Regions from separate parts of the Homo sapiens genome. Here regions 1 and 3 are each linked to region 2. The links are contacts of gene promoters, found by promoter capture Hi-C in blood cells and fetal thymus (Javierre and others, 2016). All regions are on one chromosome and are shown on one strand. The core of a region is centred on a gene start or on the middle of the fragment in contact, and the rest is flanking DNA. Distances in the headings are between cores, read along the strand shown.

The links. The method cuts DNA at HindIII sites, captures the fragments that hold promoters and counts their contacts. A CHiCAGO score of 5 or more calls a contact.
Region 1: a fragment that was not itself captured here is called in contact with the fragment with the promoter of PTER in region 2 in 1 of 17 cell types (endothelial precursors); the score reaches 6.0 in endothelial precursors.
Region 3: the fragment with the promoter of TRDMT1 here is called in contact with the fragment with the promoter of PTER in region 2 in 4 of 17 cell types (non-activated CD4 T cells, total B cells, total CD8 T cells and 1 more); the score reaches 9.8 in non-activated CD4 T cells.

What each region holds. Positions count from the first base shown.
Region 1 is chr10:15,896,818-15,899,517 of GRCh38, forward strand. No RefSeq gene overlaps it. Among named protein-coding and RNA genes, the nearest start is that of MINDY3, 38 kb to the left of the region's middle. The HindIII fragment of the contact is 2,291 bases long and covers 173-2,463 here.
Region 2 is chr10:16,435,665-16,438,364 of GRCh38, forward strand. PTER (phosphotriesterase related) reads left to right here and starts at 1,346. Exons shown (of 5, transcript NM_001261836.2): 1 at 1,346-1,383. RefSeq lists a silencer at 1,221-1,270 and enhancers at 1,691-1,870, 1,891-1,940. The HindIII fragment of the contact is 4,684 bases long and covers 1-1,667 here.
Region 3 is chr10:17,200,301-17,203,000 of GRCh38, forward strand. TRDMT1 (tRNA aspartic acid methyltransferase 1) reads right to left here and starts at 1,372. Exons shown (of 11, transcript NM_004412.7): 1 at 1,271-1,372. The coding sequence starts at 1,334. RefSeq lists a silencer at 1,010-1,069. The HindIII fragment of the contact is 5,194 bases long and covers 761-2,700 here.

The sequences.
Region 1 (2,700 bases), core at 68-2,567, 540 kb before region 2:
AAATAGGCAGTAACTTTTGGGTGTTGCCATGGTGATGGTAAACTGTCATGGCGCTGGTAGGTGTGTCTTATGGAAAGGTGTTTTTTGTGCCTCTTCCAGGTTTTGGCCAGTCTTCAATCTGTTCCAGAGTCAAGCCCCACCTACCTTCTACCTCAGCTGGGAAGATCAGTAAAGCTTCCATGGTTGCAATGCATGGGTGGGGGGTTGATATTTGAAGGTTTCCCAGGATATAAACTCCCCACACCCTATGGTTAAAATAGAATTTGACAAGGCGCTTCATTCGACATTGTATTTCCCATGCAGAGTATCCTGCCTGAACATGGTAGGTGTTAAGAAGCATTTTTTTTAATTGAATAAAAATTCTTTTTGAGGAATTTAGATATTTCAGAAGTTAATTTATAGAAGCCCTAAAACTTCCCATTACCTTATCGTGGTATGGATTTTTAAAATATTTAGGGGAGATGACATTATGTTCCTTTAAATATTACTATTTTGATTTTTGAGCCTTCCTGTTTAAAAATGTTGACCTGTCTTCTTGGTAGTCAGGAATCTTGAAAGCTCAGGCTTCTCCATTTCATTACCTCATAGATTTTGCCAGAAAATGCTACTCTACGAGGAAAGTAGCAGAGCTGAAACTTCAAATAGAATCTCATGAGTCATACACATGTCTGCTAACAGGAGGGAGAACAGGATGGACTCATGAGTAGGGACAGTCATGCAAAGGGAGTTACTTGATTTTTTTTCTTCTCCTCTTAATCAGGAAATAGTCGTTCCTGCTCCGCATTTATTATTTTTTTAAACAATATATTCCTCTGACAAGAAGTTAATGATGAGTCACTTCTAGGAGGCAGAAATTTGATTTTCTAAATACTTAGTTCTTTGTAGTTAGCAGAGATCCAACAGTGACATTTAAAAATTATTCTGTTTCTGTAACTTGGACACTCTTTAAACTAAGAGGACTATGTATGTGGAATGGTGTACACCTACGTGATAATTCATGTCAACCATGCACTTACTACAAAATCTCAAATGCTTCCCTACATAAATCAGTTCTGAGACCCAAGAAGCCAACTCATTAAAATTTACTTGAGATTCCTGTAACCTTTTCTCAGGAAGCAACAGCAGGTAAAAAATGTGCAGCTTTTTAAAAAACAAATGTGTGCAAAACTTCAATTCTAGTCTATAAAAAAATCTTTTTTTTTGTGGGTAGTTGAAAAGCCTGGCAGAGGGTGGGTGGGAAAGTCATGAAAGTTTGGAAGGATGACATAGTAGATTATGGTGAATTAGAAATTTGTCACAGAATATCGATGGAAGAGATGCCGGGTTGAGTCAGATTTTCTCAGTGCCGAGATGATGGTTGAGTTAACAAATTAGGTTCCTTTGAAAATTGCACTAATATTTTTGGCCACTAGGTCGTTAGAATTTGCTTCTCCCCAAACAGTAAGGATAATAGTGAGTCAGTCTGCATATGCTGAAGCTGGTATTATACTATTTATTGCTAGTGACATTGTCAATGTCTGGATGGCTGCTGTTTGCAGGAATCTCATGCCATTCCCTTGCTTGATAACTACCAAGGGCTCTGTATCAACTACAGAATACAACCAAATCCCTTAGCATGATGTGCAAGGCCCTCTACCATCTGATATGCTGCTTAGATTTTAGTATCTCGTGCTAGTACCCATCTGGGTCCCATGTCAAGTTTCAGACACATCTCTTATATCTTCAAGAGTTCTCCATTCTTGCACTCACCACAGTAAAGACATATTTATAAGTCAATCTCCTTGGGGGCAGGGACTATGGTTTATTAATCTTTGTAGTAATCGCATCTGGTACATGGAGTGCTATAGATGTTTGTTAAATTAATAAGTATATGTTCTATCTTCTTCTCTCTTTTTTTTTTTTTTTTTGAGACGAAGTTTCACTCTTGTTGCCCAGGCTGGAGTGCAATGGTATGATCCCGGCTCACCACAACTTCTGCCTCCCAGGTTCAAGCAATTCTTCTGCCTCAACCTCCCAAGTAGCTGGGATTACAGGCATGTGCCACCATGCCCGGCTAATTTATGTATTTTTGGTAGAGACGTGGTTTCTCCATGTTGGTCAGGCTGGTCTCGAACTCCTGATCTCAGGTGATCCGCCCGCCTCAGCCTCCGAAAGTGCTGGGATTACAGGTGTGAGCCACTGCACCTGGCCATGTTCTATCTTCTTTTAATATATAGCATAACTACCAACTAAGTAACACACTTGGCATGCAGTAGGCAGAATTCTAGAGAAGACCCCAATAGTCCTTACCTTTGTGTAATTCTATTCCATTTGAGTGCCGTGGAAAATATGCATATGATGAGATACCACTCCCATGATTATAAATTCTATTATATTATACGGCAAAAAGGGAGAAAATCTAATTACATGAACCCCTTTAAAAGCCAAGTTTTAATGGACTGGTGAAACGAATCAGGGATCCAAAGCTTGGAAAGGGATTTGATGCATCTTTGCTGGTTTCAAAGATGGATGGGACCACTCCCAGCTCCTAGAGGCCAAGGAATGCAGGTGGCCTCTAGGAGCTGAGAGTGGCTTCCAGCTGATAGCCAGCAAGGAAACGGGGACCTCCACTTCTGCCAACAATCTGGATGAGTTTAGACGTGGATTCTTCCATATACTCCAAATAATAGACCAACCGGCTGATACCGTGGTTTCGGTACT
Region 2 (2,700 bases), core at 96-2,595:
TTGGGGTTCAGAAAATGATACCCCAAAATGAAGGCCTTAGAAGCAGCTCTCTCTAACCTCATGTCCTCCTGCCTCTGGCCCCTCATTCTAGAAACTGGAATCCCTCTTCCCCAAGGTGATTCACAGAAGCCAGAACCCCTCATCCCCAAAGCCAAGCATAAAACCTAAAAGTTTGACTCTGCGTGTCCCCTGCCTTTCTGTGTCAAAACTGGCGGTAAAGAAATTCTCTGCCCTGCTTTGTTTGACTGTAGGTCATAAGACCCCCATTCCAGAAAGGATCCTGCTCTATACCCAGAAGGAAGGAACACTGCACAGAAAAGCCAAAAAGAATCTAAACAGACAGGGCTTGCTCACTTAGTCTATTGGCATTAGCTCAGACCCTTTTTATGCCATCGTAGTATCTCTTAGGTTGGTGCAGAAGTAATTGCGGTTTTTGCCATTAAAAACCGCAATTACTTTTGCACCAGCTGAATACATGGCGGTCCATACTTTATTGAACCTAAGCGAAAAAATGGACCGTTTCCCCTGCATCTTTGGGTTTTCATTCTGAAGGCTCCCGGATCACATAAAGTTACGATCTAGTATATTTGTATGCCTTTTCTACTGTGAAACTGTCTTTTGTCAGTTGATTTTCAGCAAACTTTCAGAGGACGAAGGAGAGGTTTGCCCTTGGCCCCCTACAATACCTAAAGGTATGACTCTTTACTGTGGCAGCTGCTCCAAGCATCATGTTTTGCCAACAGACTCACACATACTAAGTTTATTTCAGTCACAGCAAGTACCAGGGCCAGTTCAAGTGCTCTAGCACGGCACTCTAATTCTAAAGAGAAGGAAACGCGGCACCGGGGCAGGAAACAGTGACAAGTGGGAACACAAAAACCAAAGTTCTCCGTATGCAGCATGAGGATCCAGAACCCACTGTGACATCAAATTGCCAGAGCACCACCTCCGATTTATTCTTGGGGAAAACCAAAAGAGCTACGGAATGCTCCCTTGTTCCAGACTGTTCTATGGAGAACTGGGATCTGGGGAAAATGCAACAGTTTCTTTCCGTTTGGGGATCTAGCCCCGAATTTTTTTCATTCAGCCAAACTACCGACAGTCAGACAGCGCCTGCAGGAGGGTGTGGCCAGGCAAAAACGCGGGGAACGGCCCCGGACCAGGGTGGGGCGTGGCAAGGGTTTGAAGGGCGTGTCCTACGAAGAGGTAGGGCTTGGCAAGGACCCACGGGGCGTGTCCTAGGACTCGGTGAGGGCGTGACCTCGGGCCAGGGGCGGGGAGAGAACCAGAGGGCGAAGTGGGAGGGCACAGGGGAGACTAAAAAGGCCAGGGAAGTTGGCCTGCCGGAAGTTCCCAGGGAGAAGGCAGCGCGTTGTACCCGAGGTAAGGCTTCTTGGAGTCAGAGCAGGAGCCGGAACTGTGGGCCCAGTAGGAAGAGTGGGGCCCGACGGCGGAGGCCGCGCGGCCAGGGTTCGCTGCAGAGCTCCACGCGAGGGTCCTGCCGGAAGGAAGGATTTTCTAGCCGCTGCGCTTGGGCCCTGCCGCCTCTCCTTAAGTGCTTGAGGGACGTTGCAAAGAGCGCCAGTCCCGTGTGGCGCCAGCTCCCTGTGGCTCGACAGCAATGCCCGGGGGCGTCATCGGGTAGCTGTGCTAAGCCTCCTTTAATAAGCTTTTTTTTTTTTTTTTTTTTAGATTCAGGGTCTGGCTCTGCTTCCCAGGCTAGAGTGCATTTGGCGCGATCACAGCTCACTGCAGCCTCGACCTCCTGAGCTCAAGCGAACTTCCTGCCTCAGCCTCCTGAGCTTCCTGAGTAGCTGCGACTACAGGCACGTGCCACCATGTCCGGTTATTTTTGTATTTTTTGTAGAGAGTGTCTCGCCATGTTGCCCAGGCTGGTTTCGAACTCCTGGGCTCAATCAGTCTGCTGCCTCGGCCTCCCAAAGTGCTGGCATTACAGGTCTATATTTTTTGACAGTTTATAAAAGCCAATTACCAGCGGTCATATGTCTGAGTCCTGTGCACTCTTGCTTAATCCACTCTGCAGCCCTGTGAAGGATTCTAGTGATAACGACAAAGCTAAGGTACAGAAAAATTAGGCCACACTGCTGGAAAGTTTAGAGATGGAAACAAAGTTTAGAGGTGGAGTCTTTCTGACTCCACAGCCAGTGTGCTGTTACTCTCTTAGACTACCTCATTCTTTGTACATCCCAAGTCAACAGGAACTAAAGGTATACCCTTACATAGGCAGTAAGAGGGGTTGCTGATTTAAAGAACTTTGGACCCAGAAAGAGTAGAGCCCTATTCTAGTTCTGGTTCCAGCTCAGTGACTTTCTACAAGTTGGTTTTCTTTTGCTTTTTTTAAAGACAGAGTCTCGCCCTTGCCCAGGCTGGAGTGCAGTGGTGCGATCTCGGCTCACTGCAACCTCCGCCTCCCGGGATCAAGCGATTCTCTTGCCTCAGCCTTCTGAGTGGCTGGGACTACAGGCGCGCTCCACCACACACAGCTAATTTTTGTATTTTTAGTAGAGACGGGGTTTCACCATACTGGCCAGGCTGATCTCGAACTCCTGACCTTGTGATTCACCCACCTCGGCCTCCTAAAGTGCTGGGATTACAGGCGTAAGCCACCGCGCCCGGCCTCTTGCTTTTTAAGACTAGGTCTCATTATTTCACCAAAGCTGGAGTGCAGTGGTGCTATCA
Region 3 (2,700 bases), core at 122-2,621, 760 kb after region 2:
GGGAAAACGCGGACATTATATCACTTTAGAGAATTAACAAAGAGTAAATAGTACTAGAGTTTTGCTTTGATGCTGCTAAGTTTTAAAATGAGAAATAAAGATAGCCGGCAAACAAGTACTAAAAACTTAATGATCATTAACCTAGTCTAGAATTGAAACTCAATAAATCTGCTCAAAAAACTTATACGCTAAACCCATTAAATATTGTCTGTATCTTACAGTTACTCTTGTTACTCTTGGTCCTAAATAAGGAAGCAGGGAAGTTTCAGTTCGGTGGTTGTCTTAGTAATTTAAGAATAAACATGCACCTTCAAAGCCTGTTTGTCATTCTGTATCCCCAGCTCCTAGCACAAAATCTGGCACAGAATAGGAGCTCAATAAATAATTTTGAGTGAATATCACCAAAAGTAAAACTTTCAGTTCCAACTCAGCATGAAAGAAATCAAAAACCTCAAAATCAAAGACGTGCATAAAAGTAATAGTTTGCTTGATAATATCTCGTGATGTCGTTTTAAAGTAATAGTGATAATAATGTATAATATTTGGAGTGGTTACAATGTATCAGGCACTAACAAGCACTTGACAGACTTTAATCCTTATAATAATCATTCTCTTTTAAAACCAGGAAACAGGTTCATCACTGTTCACGAAGTAGCCCAACGTCACACTGCCACCAAGCTGGAACTCAGTTCTCTGGCATCTAAACGCAGAACTACAGAAGACACGTTTCTTTCCAACGATCAGACGTCCAAGTTCTTCAAGCTTCCTCTACCATCCTATTTAGCATTCGCAAACTTCTACCTTGAATTGTAGCTATTATCCCTTCCAAGATCCATCTCTCACCAGGGGAGCCCCTGACACTCCCTCCCTCCCCAGCTGGGAAGCCCCCCAGGATGAAGGACCGAGTCTCCATGCTTCTCGGTGGCTGCACACTTAGAATGGGGGCTTGGCACCAGGCGAGGGTCTCGCCCCTTTGATACCCTTTGAGGTTGATTTACTGCCTTGCGAATCCCGACTCCCAACTGGGCCCTTTGAGGCGCCATGTGCGGCCCCTCGAGCCAGACTCGGCGCCAGGAGAAGGGAGTCAGCGTCTGGAGGGGTGGACACGGCGGCGCGCAGGAGCTGTTTCCAGGACAACCGAGGGCCGCCCCACAGTGTCCGCCCCACAGTGTCCGCCCCTTGCGTCTCGCCGCTCCGCCCCTTCCCGGCGCGGGTGCTCCAACCAGCCCCCGTGAGCGAATAGAGAGAGGGGTGCTAGATGGACTCTCACCTCTCAGCGCGTGGTGCATGCCGCCCACGCCGCTGTATAGCTCCAGCACCCGCAGGGGCTCCATCCCCGCGCCTCAGCCGCCGCAGCCCCGGAGCTAGGCCTGCCGGTCCGTCGCTCCTCCTCCCTCCATCGCGCCGCTCCCTCAGCCTCTGGTTCCGCGGCGTTTCAGTTCCCCCGTCTCCTACCGCTCCAGGCTCAGGGCTTCAGAGGGCCTCGCGGCCTGGGGATTGGCAAGGGTCTAGAGGGGAACAAAGGACGGAAAACAATAAGGCTTCCCGAATGAATGGCAGCCACTCTGTAGCCTGATTTACGCTCCATTTCCTTCTTTGGTGTCAGGGGCCTTGATTGGAAAAGAAATCCAGAGTTCAGTAAAGGGGAGAAAACTGCCTTGGTTTCCAAGTGAATTAACACTGGTTAGAAGCCAGAAAAAAATCATTTTTCAGACAAGCTGCTTTTCTGTCACTTAGAAGCCTGAACATTCAAACATTCTTTCCACAGTGTGCCTTGTTTCCTGCCTGCCCTGGGTCAATAGAGAGAAATTAGACCAGCCTCTCCCCTAGAGAAGATTCCAGAATTATAAGTAAGGACACAAGTCCACTCGCAGCAGAGAAAGCCCTGTGTGCGTGCTGATAATACAGAGGATGTTTGTTGTGTCTATTAGTGGGGTTAATTATGTTTTAGCTTGGAAATTACACCTACATAGAATACACAGTGAATATCATGTAGGATTATTTATGGGTCTTTAAGTGCTATGGCCTTGATTCCTCAGGATGATCCAGTAACCAACTGTTAGAGGCTCATGTTGACGAAAAAAGCCAAACTCCGTAAAATGTTTGAAGAGGTTTATTCTGAGCACAAGGTGAGGACCGTGACCCATGACACAACCCCACAGGGTCCTGACAACATGTACCCAAGGTGGTTGGGCTACAGCTTGGGATTATATGGTTTTAGGGAGACATAAGGACATTAACTGGTATATGGAAGGTGTACTTAGTTTGGTCCATAAAGATGGGACAACTCAAAAAGGGGAAGGATTCCAGGTTACAGGTGGATTCAAAGATTTTCTGATTGGCAGTTGGTTGAAAGAGTTAAGTTGTGACCTAAAGACCTGGAATCAATAGAAAGGAATGTGTCTGGGTTAAGATAAGGTGGAGACCAAGGTTCTTATTATGTAGACGAAGTCTCATACGTAACAGGCTTCAGAGAGAATAATTGGCAAATGTCTCTTATCATGTGTAAAAAGATGCCAGACTCTTAGTTAAATATCTCTTGGATCAGGAAAAGACCTGGAAAGGGAAAGGGAGTCTCTATAGAATGTAGATTTTCCCCACAAGAGATGGCTGTGTAGGGCCATTTCAAAAAGTGTCAAAGAAATTTATTTTAGGGTAAAATGCTTTGATTTAGGGCCTGCTATCTTTCATGTGATGCTA